Regions from separate parts of the Homo sapiens genome. Here regions 1 and 3 are each linked to region 2. The links are contacts of gene promoters, found by promoter capture Hi-C in blood cells and fetal thymus (Javierre and others, 2016). All regions are on one chromosome and are shown on one strand. The core of a region is centred on a gene start or on the middle of the fragment in contact, and the rest is flanking DNA. Distances in the headings are between cores, read along the strand shown. Region 1 overlaps STAG2 (STAG2 cohesin complex component). Region 2 holds the start of THOC2 (THO complex subunit 2). Region 3 overlaps STAG2 (STAG2 cohesin complex component).

The links. The method cuts DNA at HindIII sites, captures the fragments that hold promoters and counts their contacts. A CHiCAGO score of 5 or more calls a contact.
Region 1: a contact is called between a fragment that was not itself captured here and the fragment with the promoter of THOC2 in region 2, in 1 of 17 cell types (M0 macrophages). The highest score is 5.1, in M0 macrophages.
Region 3: a contact is called between a fragment that was not itself captured here and the fragment with the promoter of THOC2 in region 2, in 1 of 17 cell types (total B cells). The highest score is 5.1, in total B cells.

The regions. Positions count from the first base shown.
Region 1 is chrX:123,992,472-123,995,432 of GRCh38, forward strand. All of the region lies in intron 1 of STAG2 (STAG2 cohesin complex component), which reads left to right. Among named protein-coding and RNA genes, the nearest start is that of STAG2, 32 kb to the left of the region's middle. The HindIII fragment of the contact is 1,345 bases long and covers 1,018-2,362 here.
Region 2 is chrX:123,731,372-123,734,486 of GRCh38, forward strand. THOC2 (THO complex subunit 2) reads right to left here and starts at 1,681. Exons shown (of 39, transcript NM_001081550.2): 1 at 1,581-1,681. The coding sequence starts at 1,651. RefSeq lists an enhancer at 1,617-1,696. The HindIII fragment of the contact is 10,140 bases long and covers 809-3,115 here.
Region 3 is chrX:124,077,059-124,080,016 of GRCh38, forward strand. It overlaps STAG2 (STAG2 cohesin complex component), which reads left to right. Exons shown (of 35, transcript NM_001042750.2): 27 at 899-1,000. Among named protein-coding and RNA genes, the nearest start is that of STAG2, 120 kb to the left of the region's middle. The HindIII fragment of the contact is 5,321 bases long and covers 1-2,958 here.

The DNA.
Region 1 (2,961 bases), core at 440-2,939, 260 kb after region 2:
TCTAAGTTTACTGCACTCGAAGAGATCAATTCATTGAGGGCTGTAGTAGGGAGAGTTTCATGGAACAAATGCTGTGTTTTTCTTGGAGACAGGGTCTCCCTCTGTCTCCCAGGCTGGAGTGCAGTGGCTCAATCTCGGCTCACTGAAACGTCTACCTCCCAGACTTAAGCAATTCTCCAACATCAACCTCCCAAGTAGCTGGGACCACAGGCACACACCACCATGTCCAGCTAATTTTTGAATTTTTTTGTAGAGACGGGGTCTCACCATGTTCCCCAGGCTGGTCTGAAATTCCTGAGCTCAAGAGATCTGCCCGCCTTGGCCTCCGAAAGTGCTGGGGTTACAGGCGTGAGCTACTGTGCCTGTCCTATGGTTTTAACTGGTCCTTAAAGAATGATTCTGCATTGAGTACAAAGGGGGTGGTTATGGTTACAGGCTGGAGAAACAGAGATGGGAATGAGTACTTTCCATGGAATAATGAGACAAACATTGTGATTGAAACTGTAGGTTCAATTTTATTAATAGAAAAAGCAGGTCTTTGGTTTTTGCAGGATCTTGTTGGGATTGATTATATTTAAATATAAGTGCCTAAAAATGATACCTTGTATTTTTCTTAAACGATACATTTTTCTAGTTGGGTAAACTTTTGAGTTATTTAGACTAAAAACTGGGTGGCTTAGTGTTTCTGTAGAAGATAGAAAATGAACAGAGGAGCCAGTCACAGTGACTCACACCTGTAATCCCAGCCCTTTAGGAGGCTGAGTCCAGGAGTTCAAGACCAGCCTGGGCAACTTGGTGAGACCTTGACTCTACACAAAAAACAATTTTTAAAAAAATTCCATTTAAAGAAAATCGGGGAAGATCCCAGTGGTGAGTTGAAATCTATATGGAATGAACTTCCTGGAGATTTTCAATCTCGCTTACCTTAAATTTGAGCAATACCTTTCAGGAAAGGTACATTTTTTTTTTCTTGTGGAAAGAAGAGTAGTGTGGCCACTGGTGGCTTATTCTCTGGAAAGCTTCTTAAGGACATTCTGGGGAAATGCATCATTGAGCTGTGGGTTCCTGGCATTTGAGTGAATAATGTTCAGATGATTAAGTGGCCCAAGGCAGGAAGCAGGGAGAATGTTTGCTTCTCTTCCCTAGCTACTCATACCTCCTGTTTCTCTAAAACTGGGTAATCCTATATATAACAGGTTGCTGATTCCATGACTTAGAATAGCTTTTCTTAAAGTGGAGTATGGATTCACCTATATTAGGGGATTTATGAATAATACAAATACCTGAGACCTGTATACAGATCTACTGAATGAGTCCTTGGATGTCGGACCTGTGACCATGCATTTAAACGAACATTTTATATGATTTTTATGCATATTGGAATTTAAGAGAACTGCTCTCATATAGGTGGAATTTTCCATAATTTATTTATTAAACAACCACCTATAGGCATTATGGGGGAGTTACTGCTCCTCTTTAGGAAGTATAATTACAGGCAGTAAATGCTGTCTTAGTCCATTTGTGTTTTGCTGTAACAGAACACCCGAGGCTGGGTAATTTATAAACAAAAGAGGTTTTAGCTCAGTGTTCTACAGTCTGGAAAATAAGAGAAGCATTGCACCATATCTACTTGGCTTCTGGTGATGGTTACTTGCTAGGTCAAAACATGGTAGATAAGGTCAAAGGGGAAGTGGACACATTCAAAGAGAGAACCCAAGGGATAGCTTGGCTTTATAGCAACAGCCCCACTCTCTTGGGAATGAATCCATTTCCAGGAGAACTAATCCAGTCTCACCAGAGTGAGAACTCAGAATCTCACTCATTACCAAAAGATTGGCAACAAGTCATTCATGAGGGATCTGCCACCATGACCCAAACACCTCTCAGTAGGCTTTACCTCCCAACACAGCCACGTTGGGGATCAAATTTCAACATGAGTTTTGGTGGGGACAAACAAACCATATCTAACCCAAAGCAAATGCCTATTGCTTTATAATAAGATTGATGGTAAAGTGCAGCTGTTGGGGATTTTCTGCTGCTCAAGATTTTGCTAAAGATCGTTTTGTGTACACAATTGTAAGGAAACTATTATTTTTATTGCATGTATTGAATGAAGAGTAAGATATTTCAGGGGTTTCTATGTGATAGTTTTAGATAGTTCCTTAAGTACAAAGGAAGGAAATTAAGACCTTATGTTTGAAATTGAGTGATTCACAATACTTTAAGAGTGTAGTCTTATTTTTGTTCTGAAGAGCTATTATGTGGATTATCCTAGTAAGACAAGTATATATTTATGAGACAAATATGTAGAAGATGAGTTCAAGCCTAGATTCTTGCCTCTTAGCTGTGTGACCTTGGGAAAAGCTTTTAACTTAAAAACAAATTCAGCGTTGATTAGTATTTAGGGGAAGTTGATTTGCTGTAGAAACCATGTTATGCTATTACTTGCGTAAGTATTTTGGTAACACTTCTGGTATTACCATGGTAGTATAAAAGCATTTTTTTCCCTCTCGTATAATACAGAAACAACAACGTAAACAAAAAACCTCTGCAAACTCCTATTTTTAGCACACTTGGAGACATAAAATGTGCCGATTACAAAAAATGTGTAGAGGGGCCGGTAGGTCGTGCATCAAAGAAGTGTGGAGAATAGTGAGCTGGCCCAGAGATGGTAGATCTTAGAAAGCTTGACTGTAAAATACAATAATATCCTTTGTATGTGACAATGGGAGCAGGTAAAGAGATGAGCAGGCTACAAGATAAAGCCTTTATGGAAAAGGTTTAGTCACGACTAGGGAGATATGGTAGGGCTTTTGCACAACGAATCCGTTTTAGCAGGAAATCATCTCTGTGGAAGCAGTGGAGAGAACTTTTGACTTAAGAAGCCTGAAAGGCTATTTATCCTAACATATAAAGAGCTCTTTGGAGTCAGTAAGAAAAAGATCATTAGCAGTGGCTCAC
Region 2 (3,115 bases), core at 431-2,930:
GCCTCCCAATTCATTACAGTGCAAGAATAAACACACATGAATAAGTCAGAGACCAATTAATTGCTAACCTGAGTGGTACAGACTTTAAGTGCATGAGCTGTCCTGAGAAGTTTAAATATCTAAAGGTTGGAATAATATTACTTTTAATAGCTATCACTTGAGCACTTACTATAAGCCAAGTGCTTTACAGGCATTATTTAGTCTTCACAACAATCCTTTGAGTAGAGTACTTATTATTCCCAATTTACTCAAGGGGAAACAGTCCAAGTGGTTAAGGAACTTACCCAAGGTCACTCAGCTACTTAAGTGGCTAAGACAGCCGCTTATTTAGGGAATTCTAGAGCTCACACTGTTAAGACTTCATACAGCAGTGCGGGGGGTGCGGGGGAGGAAGCCACATAGGCTGGCACTATTACAAGCGCGGGATCCGGCAACGCGTTCCTCGTGTTTCGTTCCAAGTAACGAAGTTACAAAGATTTGAATCTTTAGCATGAGCCACGGTAAACTGGCTACTAGAAATGGAGAGGGGTGGGCAAGGACGACAAAAATGGCTAACGAGGGTTAATTTCATCCAGGGTTGAGCTTTAGCATCTAAAAGCGACCCAGAGAAGGAAATGAGATGTTATTAATATTTGTTCTTATATCTGAGGTTTGCTTTGCTGCTTAAACGACTCCTTCCAGGGGAAGGGGAGGAGGGAGCGCTCTAACGTGGGGGCGAGAAGACTAGGGGTATGGCAAATTACTGTTTTCGGTGTTACGGGGGAAAGTTTCACGACTAAAGGAAACGCGTTATCCTAGGTACTGGAGAAGCTTGGAGAGCTGCCAGAATTAGTTGCAGTCCCAGGATAAAATGGGGTTTAGGGAACATTTAATGACGAAAGTTGAATCCAACCCGAAATAGCTCTAAGGTGAAAAGACGGAGCAAAGAAATGTCGGTGGTTCTTCAGGGAAAGCGGCAATCCCTGCCACACTTCCCCACGGCGCTACGCGAGGCCGGGACAGTCGAGAGACCGCTCCCCGGGAGGGCGAGAGGTGCCAAACCGGGTTCTTCGCGGCGCCCCGGGCTTCGCGGCAGCGGGCGAAGAGGAGGGGAGGGGAATCCGGGACGGTTCGCCCTCCTTGGACTTCAGGCAGAGGAGGCGCCAAGCTCCAAACTGCGGAGTCCAACGGGTGCAGAGTGAAGAAATGGCACAGAGAGAGATGGAAAGTCCGAATTGCCCCGGCTCAGCCCCATAAAGATAAAGGAGCCAAGTGAGATCAAGCGAAGAGGGGGACACAAAAAGAGACCAAGAGGGAGCGCGGAGACCTGCAGGGGCGGAATAAGAGTTCTACTAAGAGGCTAAAGGAAGCCGAGCTACCGCAGGCAGTAGCGATTTCTGGGAGGCCAGGGAAGGAAGGAGGTCCGCGGCGGTAAACAGCACCTCTCCCCGAGTTCGAAACTCCTAGACGACCATCCACGCCCGCCGCCCGGGTGGGGGAGGGGGTACATCTTTCCCCCTCAACCTCCCACTACAGGTGAGAGTGCAGCTGACGCCCTGGCCCGGCCCGGCAGTGCGCCTGCCTCCGGCCCGAACACTCACAATTCGCCTCTCCCTGATTTCTCCCAGTTCTTTATCCACTCTGCGGGAACCACCACAGCCGCGGCCGCCATCTTCCTCTCACTAGTAGCAGAAGCCCGGATGTGTAGCACGCGAGCGAAGGGTCAAAGGGGAGCACCGCCCACGAGGAATGCCGGGAGCTGAGAGTTCGTTTTTCGATTTCCCGCCCCACTTTCCTCTCCACCCAGCGGAAACCCGAGGCAAGGCAGCCAACGACGTGGAGACTCGCGGGCCCCTTTGCGAGGTTACTACACGGGTTGCGCCCTCCGAAGTCTTCGGCCTTACTTCCCATTAGAACAGAGAAATGCCATCCACAGGCCAACAAGTAGACTTCATCTTCTTCCGTAATATCTACCCCTAACCACTAATACAAACACGCATTTTTCAAGCACCTAATATGTGCTAGACACTGGGAATAGAGAAATAATAGTCTTTGGGAAAGCCATAAATATAAGCAAATAAATTACATTACGCCCTGCTGACTGCTGAGATAAAAGAAAATAATCGGGTCCCTCTCCTTCTCCCTCTCCCTCTCCCGTCTCCCTCTCCCGTCTCCCTCTCCCCACGGTCTCCCTCTCCCTCTCTTTCCACAGTCTCCCTCTGATGCCGAGCCAAAGCTGGACTGTACTGCCATCTCGGCTCACTGCAACCTCCCTGCCTGATTCTCCTGCCTCAGCCTGCCGAGTGCCTGCGATTGCAGGTGCGCGCCGCCACGCCTGACTGTTTTTCGTATTTTTTTGGTGGAGACGGGGTTTCGCTGTGTTGGCCGGGCTGGTCTCCAGCTCCTAACCGCGAGTGATCCGCCAGCCTCGGCCTCCCGAGGTGCCGGGATTGCAGACGGAGTCTCGTTCACTCAGTGCTCAATGGTGCCCAGGCTGGGGTGCAGTGGCGTGATCTCGGCTCGCTGCAACCTCCACCTCCCAGCCGCCTGCCTTGGCCTCCCAAAGTGCCGAGATTGCAGCCTTTGCCCGGCCGCCACCCCGTCTGGGAAGTGAGGAGCCTCTCTGCCTGGCCGCCCATCGTCTGGGATGTGAGGAGCCCCTCTGCCTGGCTGCCCAGTCTGGAAAGTGAGGAGCGTCTCTGCCCGGCCGCCATCCTGTCTAGGAAGTGAGGAGCGTCTCTGCCCGGCTGCCCATCGTCTGGGATGAAGTGAGGAGCGTCTCTGCCTGGCCGCCCATCGTCTGAGATGTGGGGAGTGCCTCTGCCCCGCCGCCCCGTCTGGGATGTGAGGAGCGCCTCTGCCCGGCCGCGACCCCGTCTGGGAGGTGAAGAGCGTCTCTGCCCGGCCGCCCCGTCTGAGAAGTGAGGAGACCCTCCGCCCGGCAGCCGCCCCGTCTGAGAGGTGAAGAGCGTCTCCGCCCGGCCGGCCGCCCCGTCCGGGAGGGAGGTGGGGGGGTCGGCCCCCCGCCCGGCCGGCCGCCCCGTCCGGGAGGTGACGGGCGCCTCTGCCCGGCCGCCGCTACTGGGAAGTGAGGAGCCCCTCTGCCCGGCCACCACCCGGTCTGGGAGGTGTACCC
Region 3 (2,958 bases), core at 28-2,527, 350 kb after region 2:
ATAGCTTAAAAATCCTTCCTCAACTAAAATCTAATTATAAATGTAAACTTTTTAAAGCCTTTGCTTTCAAGAAATAAAATATGTAATATATTTAAACCTAGTTAATCCTCTCTGGAATATTTTGCTACTTGAACTCTAATATCATTGAAAATTATTTTGGAACTTAAATCATTTGGGATGATAATTACCAGGTTTTTTTTTTTTTAAACTAAGGTTGTTTATGAAGTTATTTAACAAATTTTAAAGTTTTAGTCTTAGGTATTCTAAAGTCACTTACTAGTCATAGGGACGTGGTTATTCTGTTATCTCTGATAATTGTTATTGTACGTGTTTGAAACACAATCTTAAATTAGGAAAAAATTTCATGTGCAATGTGTAATGTAAATGTCATATAAACAACTTTTAAAAGTTGTTTATATGCTTTCCTTTTAAAAGTTGTTTATAGGCTGTTAGATTCTATAAGCCAAATTAATAAAGTTTTAAACTGCTCGTGGCCTGTATACCCGGTATCAATGAATTAGTTATAAGTGTAACTGAGATTATATTTATTGTTTTACAAAGAGAATTTTGTTTGTACATTTTGTGTTACTTCTGAAAATCTGCATAACCTAATTGTTGTTTTGACTAAAACTGACCAGTATACCGTCTTTATTTTAACCAAGTCTGGAGCTTAATTTGATTAGATCTTAACTGTTTTGTATATATGATTTTACTGAAGTTAGGGATTGTATGCTTAGAAATGATCTTTAGGTTTCAGTAACATTCTTTCCTGCCTTTGAAGGCATAATTTTGGCTAAATACATACTTTGTGACGTGTTTACATGACTAACCTAAAATTTGTCTTATTGTCAAGTAGTTTTAAGAGATAAAGCTCTAATTTGTACAAATTTCTTTATAGTATTATAATGACTATGGAGATATCATCAAAGAAACAATGAGTAAAACAAGGCAGATAGACAAAATTCAGTGTGCTAAGACCCTTATTCTCAGTCTGCAACAGGTAAGCATTAAGAGTACCAACTTTAGCTAACACAATTAACACCTAATAGTTAGCAAAATAAGGTAGCAGTTGAAATTGGGCAAAGTGTGCAATAGGCAATTTATAAAAGTAGAAATACAAGAAAGTATAAGTGAGATTATTTTTTTGCTTTCAAACTGTCAAGATTGGCAAAACCTATAGCTATCTAAGGTATGGAGGAAATATAGATATGGTAGGCAATTTGGCAATTTATGTAAAAATTTATAATGTGTATGCCATTTGAGGCAGCAATTCTACTTTTTAAATCTACTCTTTTATCCAAGGTGATAAGACAAGTTTGCAAAAGTTGATATACAAAGTTGTATATTGCAATGTTGTTTATAGGAAGTAAGACATAATCTAAAAGTCTATTAGGATATTAGATAAATTTACTGTATAGTACATTTCTGCGATGACCGTTGTACAACACTTAAAATTAGTGTAGATCTATATTCATTAATGTATAAAGAGCTTCATAATCACAAAATATATTAACAGTGGTTAACTTGTTTTGGTAGATTTCATGTTGAATTCTACTTTTTTCTCTGTATATTTCCAAACTTATTTTTGTGAGCATATATTAATTTTATAACTAAAACACAATAGTTTTGGCCAGGCACAGTGGCTCATTCCTGTAATCCCAGTGCTTTGGGAGGCTGAGGTGGGTGGATCACCTGAGATCAGGAATTCGAGACCAGCCTGGCCAACATGGTGAAACCCCGTCTCTACTAAAAATACAAAAATTAGCTGGGCATGATGATGTGAGCCTATAATCCCAGCCACTTGGGAGGCTGAGGCACGAGAATTGCTTGAACCTCGTAGGTGGAGGTTGCAATGAGCCAAGATCATGCCACTGCACTCCAGCCTGGGCGACAGAGTGAGACTCTGTCTCAAAACAAACAAACAAAAAAACCAATAGTTTTCATTTTGGCAGTGTTGAGGCATTTAATTAGATAAAATTACTGACTTAGTATACTTTTGTCTTTGGAGACAAAATTTGCATGCAAAACCCAACCCAACCCATTCCAACTTAATGAACTTTCTTTTAGGAATGTCCTTTTTTTTTTTTCCTTTTCTTTTGAGACGGAGTCTCGCCCTGTCGCCCAGGCTGGAGTGCAGTGGCGTGATCTTGGCTCACTGCAGGCTCCACCTCCCAGGTTCACGCCATTCTCCTGCCTCAGCCTCCCAAGTAGCTGGGACTACAGGCACCCGCCACCACACCCGGCTAATTTTTTTGTATTTTTAGTAGAGACGGGGTTTCACCGTGTTAGCTAGGATGGTCTCAATCTCCTGACCTCGTGATCCACCTGCCTCGGCCTCCCAAAGTGCTGGGATTACAGGCGTGAGCCACCGTACCCAGCCAGGAATGTTCTTAATTTTATTTGAGAATTTGAATTTTCTCTATTAAAATTAATAAAATGTAGGCTGGGTGTAGTGGCTGATGCCTGTAATCCCAGCACTTTGGGAGGCCAAGGTTGAGAATTGCTTGAGCCCAGGAGTTGGAGGCCAGCCTGGGCAACATAGCAAGAGCCCATCTCTACAGAAAATGAAGAAAGAAAAATAAATAAAATTTAAAAGGTTGAAAAGATGGCATTTAAAAAATAACTTTTGCTATAAAGTAATAGCTGCTAGCTGTACTGTTTAGAAAATATAAAAAGGAACAAATGCAAATTATCCTTAATGTTTTCACTTCACAATAACCTTTTTGTTTTTTGATGGCCTTGTTACTCTTTTTTATGCGTACATGAAATCTGATTTTTTAACAAAATTAAATTGTGCATTCCATTTTGTAAGGCTGCATTTTAATATTAATAAACACTGAACACATTTATGCCATTAAATAATTTCCTCAGCATCTTTTTTTTTTTTGGAGCAGGAGAGGTTCATTTATTTTTTTTTCTAGATTTTTGTGAAGGTATAATTGAAAAGTAAGAATTCTG